2 separate regions of the Homo sapiens genome follow, and region 1 is linked to region 2. Evidence: promoter capture Hi-C in 16 types of primary human blood cells and fetal thymus (Javierre and others, 2016). All regions are on one chromosome and are shown on one strand. Each heading gives the region's core, a stretch centred on a gene start or on the middle of the fragment in contact. The rest is flanking DNA. Distances are from core to core; before and after follow the strand shown. Region 1 has its middle 25 kb from the start of GABARAPL1-AS1. Region 2 holds the start of KLRC1 (killer cell lectin like receptor C1).

The links. Contacts are between HindIII fragments. The CHiCAGO score rates a contact against its expected background, and 5 or more counts as called.
Region 1: a contact is called between a fragment that was not itself captured here and the fragment with the promoter of KLRC1 in region 2, in 1 of 17 cell types (total CD8 T cells). The highest score is 5.8, in total CD8 T cells.

What each region holds. Positions count from the first base shown.
Region 1 is chr12:10,237,684-10,242,083 of GRCh38, forward strand. It overlaps a transcript of KLRD1 not described here. Among named protein-coding and RNA genes, the nearest start is that of GABARAPL1-AS1, 25 kb to the left of the region's middle. The HindIII fragment of the contact is 5,718 bases long and covers 1-4,400 here.
Region 2 is chr12:10,450,565-10,454,853 of GRCh38, forward strand. KLRC1 (killer cell lectin like receptor C1) reads right to left here and starts at 2,813. Exons shown (of 7, transcript NM_002259.5): 1 at 2,634-2,813; 2 at 406-623; 3 at 1-15. The coding sequence starts at 592. The HindIII fragment of the contact is 4,540 bases long and covers 449-4,289 here.

The DNA of each region.
Region 1 (4,400 bases), core at 1,386-3,885, 210 kb before region 2:
CAAGGCAACATGACTGGTCTGGACATGGGCTTTGCATGGAGCTTGCTCCTGTATTGGTGCTTGGAGTGGCTGGCCAGATCCCATACTCACTTGCTTATGTGTTACCTCTCTCAAGGGGCGGAGCATGGTGGGCCGAGGAGATGGGGCACTCGTGCTAGGAGTCCGGCAAAAGGGCCAAGAAAAATCCTGCATGAATATTACAATCTCTGATCATCCAGTTAAAGTTTCTAGGGCCCCTCTGCTGTTGCTGTCAATCTCAAACACTTTTTTGTTTCATTTACAACACATATTGGAACTTGTATTATTTTGAATTTGCTTTTTAACTTAAATTTTATAATTTCTTTCATTAGAATATGGTTTCCATGAGGCCAGAGAACATGTCTGTTTTTCTTTTTTCTATTTTTTTTTTTTTTTTTTTTGAGATGGAGTTTTGCTCTTTGTTGCCTAGGCTGGAGTGCAATGGTGTGATCTCAGCTCACCGCAACCTCTGCCTCCTGGGTTCAAGTGATTCTCCTGCCTCAGCTTCCTGAGTAGCTAAGATTACAGGCATGAGCCACCACACCCAGCTAATTTCGTATTTTTAGTAGAGATGGGGTTTCTCTATGTTGGTCAGGCTGGTCTTGAACTCCTGACCTCAGGTGATCTGCCTGCCTCGGCCTCCCAAAGTGCTGAGACTATAAGTGTGAGCCATTGCATCTGGCCCTTTTTCATTCACTGAATAATTTCACTACTTTACAAATATGTGTCAGGCACTAGGCTAGCAGACACACACATAATATTTGTTAAATAACCATACCTTTCTAGAAGGAACTTCCCCTTTAAAGTTTTTCTATATACAAATTGAGAAACAGGTAGAAAGAATCCACATTCTTAGAACTTATTCTTAGCAGATAATTTAATTTGAATCTCAATGAAAATGAAATTTAATAAATATGACTATTAAGAGACAATCAGAGTCATATTTTTAAAAAGTACATTCACTGACCTAATGAGTTATGATGTGTGGAGAACATATCACAGAACCAGAAACATCCTGTCCAAAACAGCCTAGCATATTTTAGTTCAACAAACAAAATGATGTGTTGAAATTTAGTTGGTGAGATAAGACAAAGCCAGCCCATTTGGGTCTAAATTTATGAGATTTTTTATCCAGAACATGATTATAATGATTATTTCACTTAGAGTTGTGTGAATCTGACCTAACCAAGGATAACAATGGGTAGGTCGAAGATCATATTTATGACATCTTGGCCCTGGATTTTTCCAGTTCGTTCAGACTTCAAAACCTTTGAAGGGAGTCTTAGGTTCTTACCTTATTGTTATTAAGATGTTCGAAAAGCTCAAGAATTCTAAAAAGCCAGAATGAGGGGATAACTTTCACCAAAGACTTTTCCTTTATCTTTTGTTGTACGTGGTCACTTAACTGTTTTAGCTTAATTTAACAAAAAAGATGAGAAAATATTTTTACAGTATCATGAGATGAGGCTTCTAATGGGCTGGTGGCCAAGGATGGGGAAAAGAATCAAGGACAGATTAAATCTCCAAAGTAAGAGAATCTATTATATAGCAAACAAACTTGTATAATTAATCTCTAGGAGCACGGGTTCTAATAAGCCCAGGTACCACAAAGATAGAGAATTGCTTCTTCTGTCCAGGCAAAAGGCATGACTAAAGGTGTGACTTGCTCTCTGGGGATGATACCAATTTGGCAGCAGCATTTCCTTCCTTCCTTCTTTCCATCCTTCCTTCCTTTCCTTCCTTCCTTCCTTCCTTCCTTCCTTCCTTCCTTCCTTCCTTCCTTCTTCCTTCCTTCCTTCCTTCCCTCCTTCCCTCCCCTTTCTTTCTTTCTTTCTTTCTTTCTTTCTTTCTTTCTTTCTTTCTTTCTTTCTTTCTTTCTTTCTTTTTCTTTCTTTCTTTCTCTCTCTTTCTTTCTTCTTTTCTCTTTCTCTCTGTCTTTTGTTTGTTCGTTCATTTTTGAGACAGAGTCTCACTCTGTTGCCCAGGCTGGAGTGCAGTGGCATGATCTCAGTTCACTGTAACCTCCACTTCCCGGGTTCAGGCGATTCTCCTGCCTCAGCCTCCTAAGTAGCTGGGATTACAGGTGCCCGCCATCATGCCCAGCTAATTTTTGTATTTTTACTAGAGATGGGGTTTCACCATGTTGGCCAGGCTGGACTTGAACTCCTGACCTGAAGTGATCCGCCCGCCTCAGCCTTCCAAAGTGTTGGGATTACAGACGTGAGCCACTTTTTCTCTTTCTTAAAACATTTTGCCCAATGCTAAATTTTACTGCTTGGTTTCACCATAGTAATCTGCTCTAGAAGAAAATTACCACAGGTGGGATTGTCAAGGTGTTCCGGGATAATCATTTCTACTTTCTTTCTTTTTTTTTTTGGAGACAGGTTCTTACTTTGTCACCCAGGCTGGAGTGCAGTGGCGTGATCTCAGCTCAATGCAGCCTCAACCTCCCAGGCTCAAGCTACCTTCTTACCTCAGCCCCCCAAGTCGCTGGGACCACAGGTGCGCACCATCATGCTGGGCTAATTTTTGTATTTTTTGTAGACACAGGGTTTTGCCATGTTGCCCAGGCTGGTCTTGAGCTCCTGAGCTCAAGCGATCTGCCCGCTTCTGCCTCCCAAAGTGCTGGGATTACAGGCTGAGTCACCATGCCCAGCCCTCATTTCTATTTTCTACATGCCTTTTTTTTTTCTTTGCTTTCATTGTTCAGCTTCATGCCATGATCTTATTCTGACCATGATGAAATTAGTAGAATAGATCTTCACTTACGTTCTCTGCTCCCAGTGACTAATGTAGAGACAAGAGTTTTTATATTATTTGAATTTTTGTTATGAAAAAATGTAAACATTAAGTAATATAGACATAATAACTTAATGAACTACCATGTGCCCATCACCCAGCTTCAACTCACTCCCCAATCAAGGTGAGTGTGTATCTCCCATGAGTGAGTAAACTACCACGTGCCCATCACCCAGCTTCAACAAGCATCGACTCACTCTCCAATCAAGGTGAAATATCAGACATCATGTGATTTTATCGGTCAGTACATTTCCCTGATTTTTAAGTACATTTAAGTCAGTACATTTTCTGTTTTTAAGTAAATTATACAGGGATTCACTATGGTGACTAGTTATATCTTTTACCTTTGTTTTTGCTATTGTTTTTGTTGCTTGCATGAATTGAGTCATTTGTCTTTTAGGGTTTTCCACAGTCTTGATTTGCTGATTGCACCTCCGTATGTAGTTCAACATCTTCTTCTTTTTTCTATATATATCCTGTGTATTGGTAGCAAGGTAGATACTTGGTAAGATTCAAGTTGGAATAATTTTATGAGGGGCAAAAAGCCCTACTATTTCATAATAAGAGTTGTGTAGTTACATTCAGAGGCATTTACTATCTAGTGTCTCTTTTATGTAATGTCAGCAGCAACTGATGGTCATTAACTAGGTCCCTTAATTCATGACACAAAACGTTGAAAGTTTAATTCAATCATTCCCTATTCATTTATTGGCTGAAGTACTTTCATAAATAGCGACTTCACCTCATCAATTATTAGGTTACTCTTTGTTACGGTTTGTATAAGAGTTTGCAGGAGAAGTACTTGATTCTTTTCTTTATCAGCTTTCTAATTAATGAATAAACTCAGGAGGGGAGCGATTTTTTACTTTCATAAAATAAAAATAATTTCAGACTTACAGAAAAAGTTGTGAGAAAGAGACAAAGAATGTGTAAATAGCTAGTCTTGACTCAGACTTCTTAAATGTTAATGTGCTACATTTGCTTTACGTAATCTTTCTTGGTTACATTTCAAAGAGAAGGCTTCTAGGTCCTTGAAAATGACATTACTGAGTTGTAAAACTGGCAATAGGTTGGAAAAGATTTACACCTCAAAGCGGCTGAGAAATAATTTATAATTGCAAGTTTTCTAAAGTAAATACTATAAGAAAAGGGAGGCCAGAGAACTATAGTTAGGAAGAAATTTGTCTAAAATTTCAGTTAAGATCAGGAGAAGGTTAAGGCTGATATTGGATAGTATGTGTGTATATGTGCATATTTGTTTATATATGTGTATGTATATATATATGCATACATGTATATGCACACATTCACATATAGAATGGATATTTTTGTACTGTTTACTAAAGTACTTTGCAAACATGATGTTCTCTTAACCCGTCAGTATGTAAGTATTTCCTCAGAAATCTGCTTGCATCTGAAAGTTCTTCCTGTGGTGTTGGAAAGCAGGCTTTCATGACATCACAATCTGAGTTGCTGTATTCTTATAGGTCATTCGATTCCTCTTGTTGAACTGGAGAAACTTCTCCCATAATTGACTGGATGACTGGATTTCTTTGTTACTGTTCTTGCTGTTTTTTTTTTTT
Region 2 (4,289 bases), core at 1,563-4,062:
GAGCTGATGGTAAATCTGCAGGGAGAGAAATGGGAACAGTGCGAAAGGAGAGGTGGATACAGTCGTTTAGAAGATTCACAGACAAGAGAACCTGAATGCACAGGAATCATACAGAGAAACTTGGACCCCAAACCCTCATCTCCCATTGTAATCTTTTTCTCAGAATAATATACCATTGAATTTTCAGGAAAAATAATGCTCCATGAATTATTTGACAAAGACTACAAACTTCAACAATGAGTTCAATCAGTCTTCATACTTTACATTGAAATAGCATATCTCAACTTGGAATTCTGATCTTTGCAAATAGAAGATATATGAGCACTCCCTTCTCTTTCCCCACATTCCTGTACCCCAAGCTGCACATCCTAGACTGTTATATTGAGGATCTTTTAAATGCTTTACCTTTGCAGTGATAGGTTTTGTCATTCCCTTGAAAATCCTGAGAAGCTTTTTGAAGGTTTAATTCCGCATAGGTTATTTCCTGTTCAGTTGCTAAAATGGAGTTTTTATTGCCTTTAGGTTTTCGTTGCTGCCTCTTTGGGTTTGGGGGCAGATTCAGGTCTGAGTAGATTACTCCTTGGTTATCCATCTCTGCAGTGTGTGATGTCAGGGACTGTACTCTATAATAACAGTAGTTAAGAAGTTAATAAATGGTTTATATACAGGATTCCCTAGTGCAATTAAAAGGGTGAGGTGGAGAACGAGTATTGGAGCTCATTTTGCATTAAATAATCTAAAGTTCTTTCTCTGATTTTCTTCAAGCCTAAACACGTTTCTTATGAATATTTGTTTTAAAAAAAGATTTTTAGGCCGGGCGCGGTGGCTCACGCCTGTAATCCCAGCACTTTGGGAGGCCGAGGCATGCCGATCACGAGGTCAGGAGATCGAGACCATCCTGGCTAACACGGTGAAACTCCGTCTCTACTAAAAATACAAAAAGTAGTCGGGCATGATGTCAGGCGCCTGTAGTCCTAGCTACTCGGGAGGCTGAGGCAGGAGAATCTCTTGAACATGGGCGGCAGAGGTTGCAGTGAGCGGAGATTGTGCCACTGCACTCCAGCCTGGGCGACAGAGTGAGACTCCGACTCAAAAAAAAAAGATAAATTTTCTGCATTTGACAAAATATTATTGCTGGGGCAATGAGAAGCAATAAATTACTAAGGAATAAAGAAGTTCAGGAATAAAAATATATTTCTTAAAGTCTGATGTTTTACCTGTGTTAAAAATTAAAATGTTGTATTAGAAAAACTTCTGCACTCATTTTTATGTTAATTTTGAAATCCAGTAATGGTTAAGACTATGTGGTCTGCACATGAGTAATAGTAAAGTTGACATATATATATATAAAAATTTCTTGCACTACATTACTTTTAATTAGTAATTTATACACATTAATGAAAATCAATAGAGGTAATTAAATGGTCTTTTCTTAATGGCTGAAATGTTCTAAGAAATTATTAAAAATTATTTATTAAAAATTATAAAAAATTAAATATTTGTATATGACAGAAAATGCTATGTGACACAGTTAACTTATGCATAACCTAAATAGTATTAGGAACACTACATAAATTGTTAATACTTACAGAAGTATTGGTAATTTAATTAGTAATTGGTAATTTATTTCCTGGCTAAATTATGAACCAAAAAATGATAAATAAAAGTATAGGTAATTCATGTTAAAGCACATTTCATTTAAACTTATAGAATGATTTTATGGTTGTCAAAGTGAGTAAAGGCCACTTTAGTTGTATAAGTACTTGTAAAATTTCAGATAATGTAATTAAATCATTTAGTCAATGGGCTCTGGAGTCAGTGAGATCTAGAATTAATTCTAGCTTTGACACTTATAATGTGCGACCTTTAAAAAGTTATTCTATTTTTAATAACCCAGTTTGTTAATCTAAAATGGGCATAAGAACATATAAAACGTTGCATGTAAAACATTTACCACTCAACCTGGCACTTAAAGTTCTCAATAAGCATTAGCTACTTTAATTATTATTTTAGTCACAATTGTTATGTTACTGTTTCTGATTCATGTCAGTTAAAGCATGGAAAATAAATCTTCAGATAAGTCTCCTATGTCCATGCGCTACATCTTTTTTTGCAATATTTTGATCAATTTTTAAAAAGTATTTTTATTGCTTTGTAATACCTTTAGCATTTTATGTAATCTACCTCATTCTGATTTTTATTAAAAATAAAAACTGCTTTTCTCTAATCTACGTGTCTGAGGAATTGTATTTGGCTTTCATCAATTGATTGATTTATTTTAATAATCTTTAATGGCTAAGCTAAATATAAATTATTATTCAAAGATACATGATGTACTGATTACAAAATACAAAATTAATTGTTCATTATTGTGATGTTAATAGCTTTCCCTTAAACGATATTGATCAACAAACCCACTAGATTTCCACAAACAATAATTTGAAAACTTTAAGAAATCCTTCAACATATTTCATATTTTAGGTTTTTACCCTGAGTTATTCAAATGAAGACAGCAATATTCTACTTTGATTTTATTGTATATTAATTATACCTCCTTTGTATCATATTGAGCACTTGAAATCACCCACTAAATGAGGTAGGCTAGTAGAGAGTTGGAGAGTAGCAATACATACCTTCTGTCCCCAGAAAGTCACACATCCTTTAGTGGAGAGGCCAGGTTAGTCTCATAAAAAGGCCTGCTATAGCTGTGTAATAAAAGGTGAAATTTAAAGGCATAAATCCAAGACAAGAACAAACAATGCCTGCAATCTTCGCAGACTGCCCTGTGAAGGCTCAGAGTGAGTCAAGAGTGGAAAAAGTAGATTTCTCATCAACGTGTTACTAAGGTTTGAACAGGAAATTCTACACATGGGCTATTGTGAAATCAGTTTTATCTCATCACACACCTCCAAAATATAGGATACTTGGTCTATTAAAAGTACAAGGTTGACTTTGAAAGTGTGTCATTTAGTTGGTTCATTTTTCAAGTGCCTATGAGAATTTTTTTTTTTTCTGTCTTGATCACGAACATTGTCAACCCTCACCTTGTTAAGAGTGCCTTTTAGACTAGGTTGCTAAATCTTAACATTGCATACTTCTTTTCTTTATATTATTTTATTATGTCACTTCCATTATAATAGAAAACATTCTAAAACTCATAGTAATATTATCAACTGATATCTACTGATTTTTTCCTTAATTATTCTGAAAAATTACTGCAGTAATTACTCAATTGATTGTAGCTGGCACAAAAAGCATCATTGCCAAAGTTATATTATTAACTTCTCTTAGTTCTTAAATTTTTGCACTTAATTTTTAAAAATAGATTATTTAATCTTCAGATTACCCTTGATAAAAATATCTTGGATAGGTAAAATATTAATCAATTTTGAAATATATTAGCATACCAGAAATTGAAATATTAAATAGCTATTCATTACATTCTTCATTTATTCATCCTCCGCCATAACAAATTATGTCGACTTTCATAGAAATATTTAGTTGTAAATGACAAAAACTGAAGTCAAACTATGTATGGGGAAAAAGTAATTTTAAAATCTTACTAGGAGGAAAGTCAGTAAATTGGCAGAATAGGTGGTCCCCCACACATATGCCCCCACAGCAACAATAATTTTTCAGCCATCCACAGACAAAAGTTCCTTTGAGGGAGTTTGGAATTCAAGTAGGAGTTTGTAAAATGCCAGTGGAACCCAAGACCTAGGAAGGTTGTTTTAGGGAATAGATTTGCATCCAAGTGGCAGACTTACCAACAGTGATTCCATCTCCAGACCTGAAAAGGGACCCATCCTCCTGTGCTTGCCTTCAGCCCCATTTAGGCCTTGGTCATGCTGCCAAAACCATTTGCCCAGGGGCCCAGGAGGAGACTCACACACTAGTGTCTCAGGAGGTAGGCATATCAACTGTAGTCTCAATGTAGACCCTGAAACAGCCCTCTAACTTGGCTTTAACTAGTGTCAGCCACAACTTGAGATCAGTCCTTCACCCACAGAGACTTCCTGGGAGACATATACATCTGTACCTCTGGGGCATGCTTGCTGACCTCTGTCCTACAGAAGATACTAAAATGGCCCTGAATCTCCACTCAAACTCCTCTCAACTGTGACCTGAGTTAATCACAGGAAATTGCTGTGAGACTCAATCATCTTTGTCAGCAGTACAGGCTTGCTGACTTCAGTTCCACGGTAGTTTCTGAAACAGCCTTGAATCTTGACCTTCACCCTTCTCAGCTGTGGACTGTGAGCAGTCTTGCCAGCTCAGGGATACAGAGG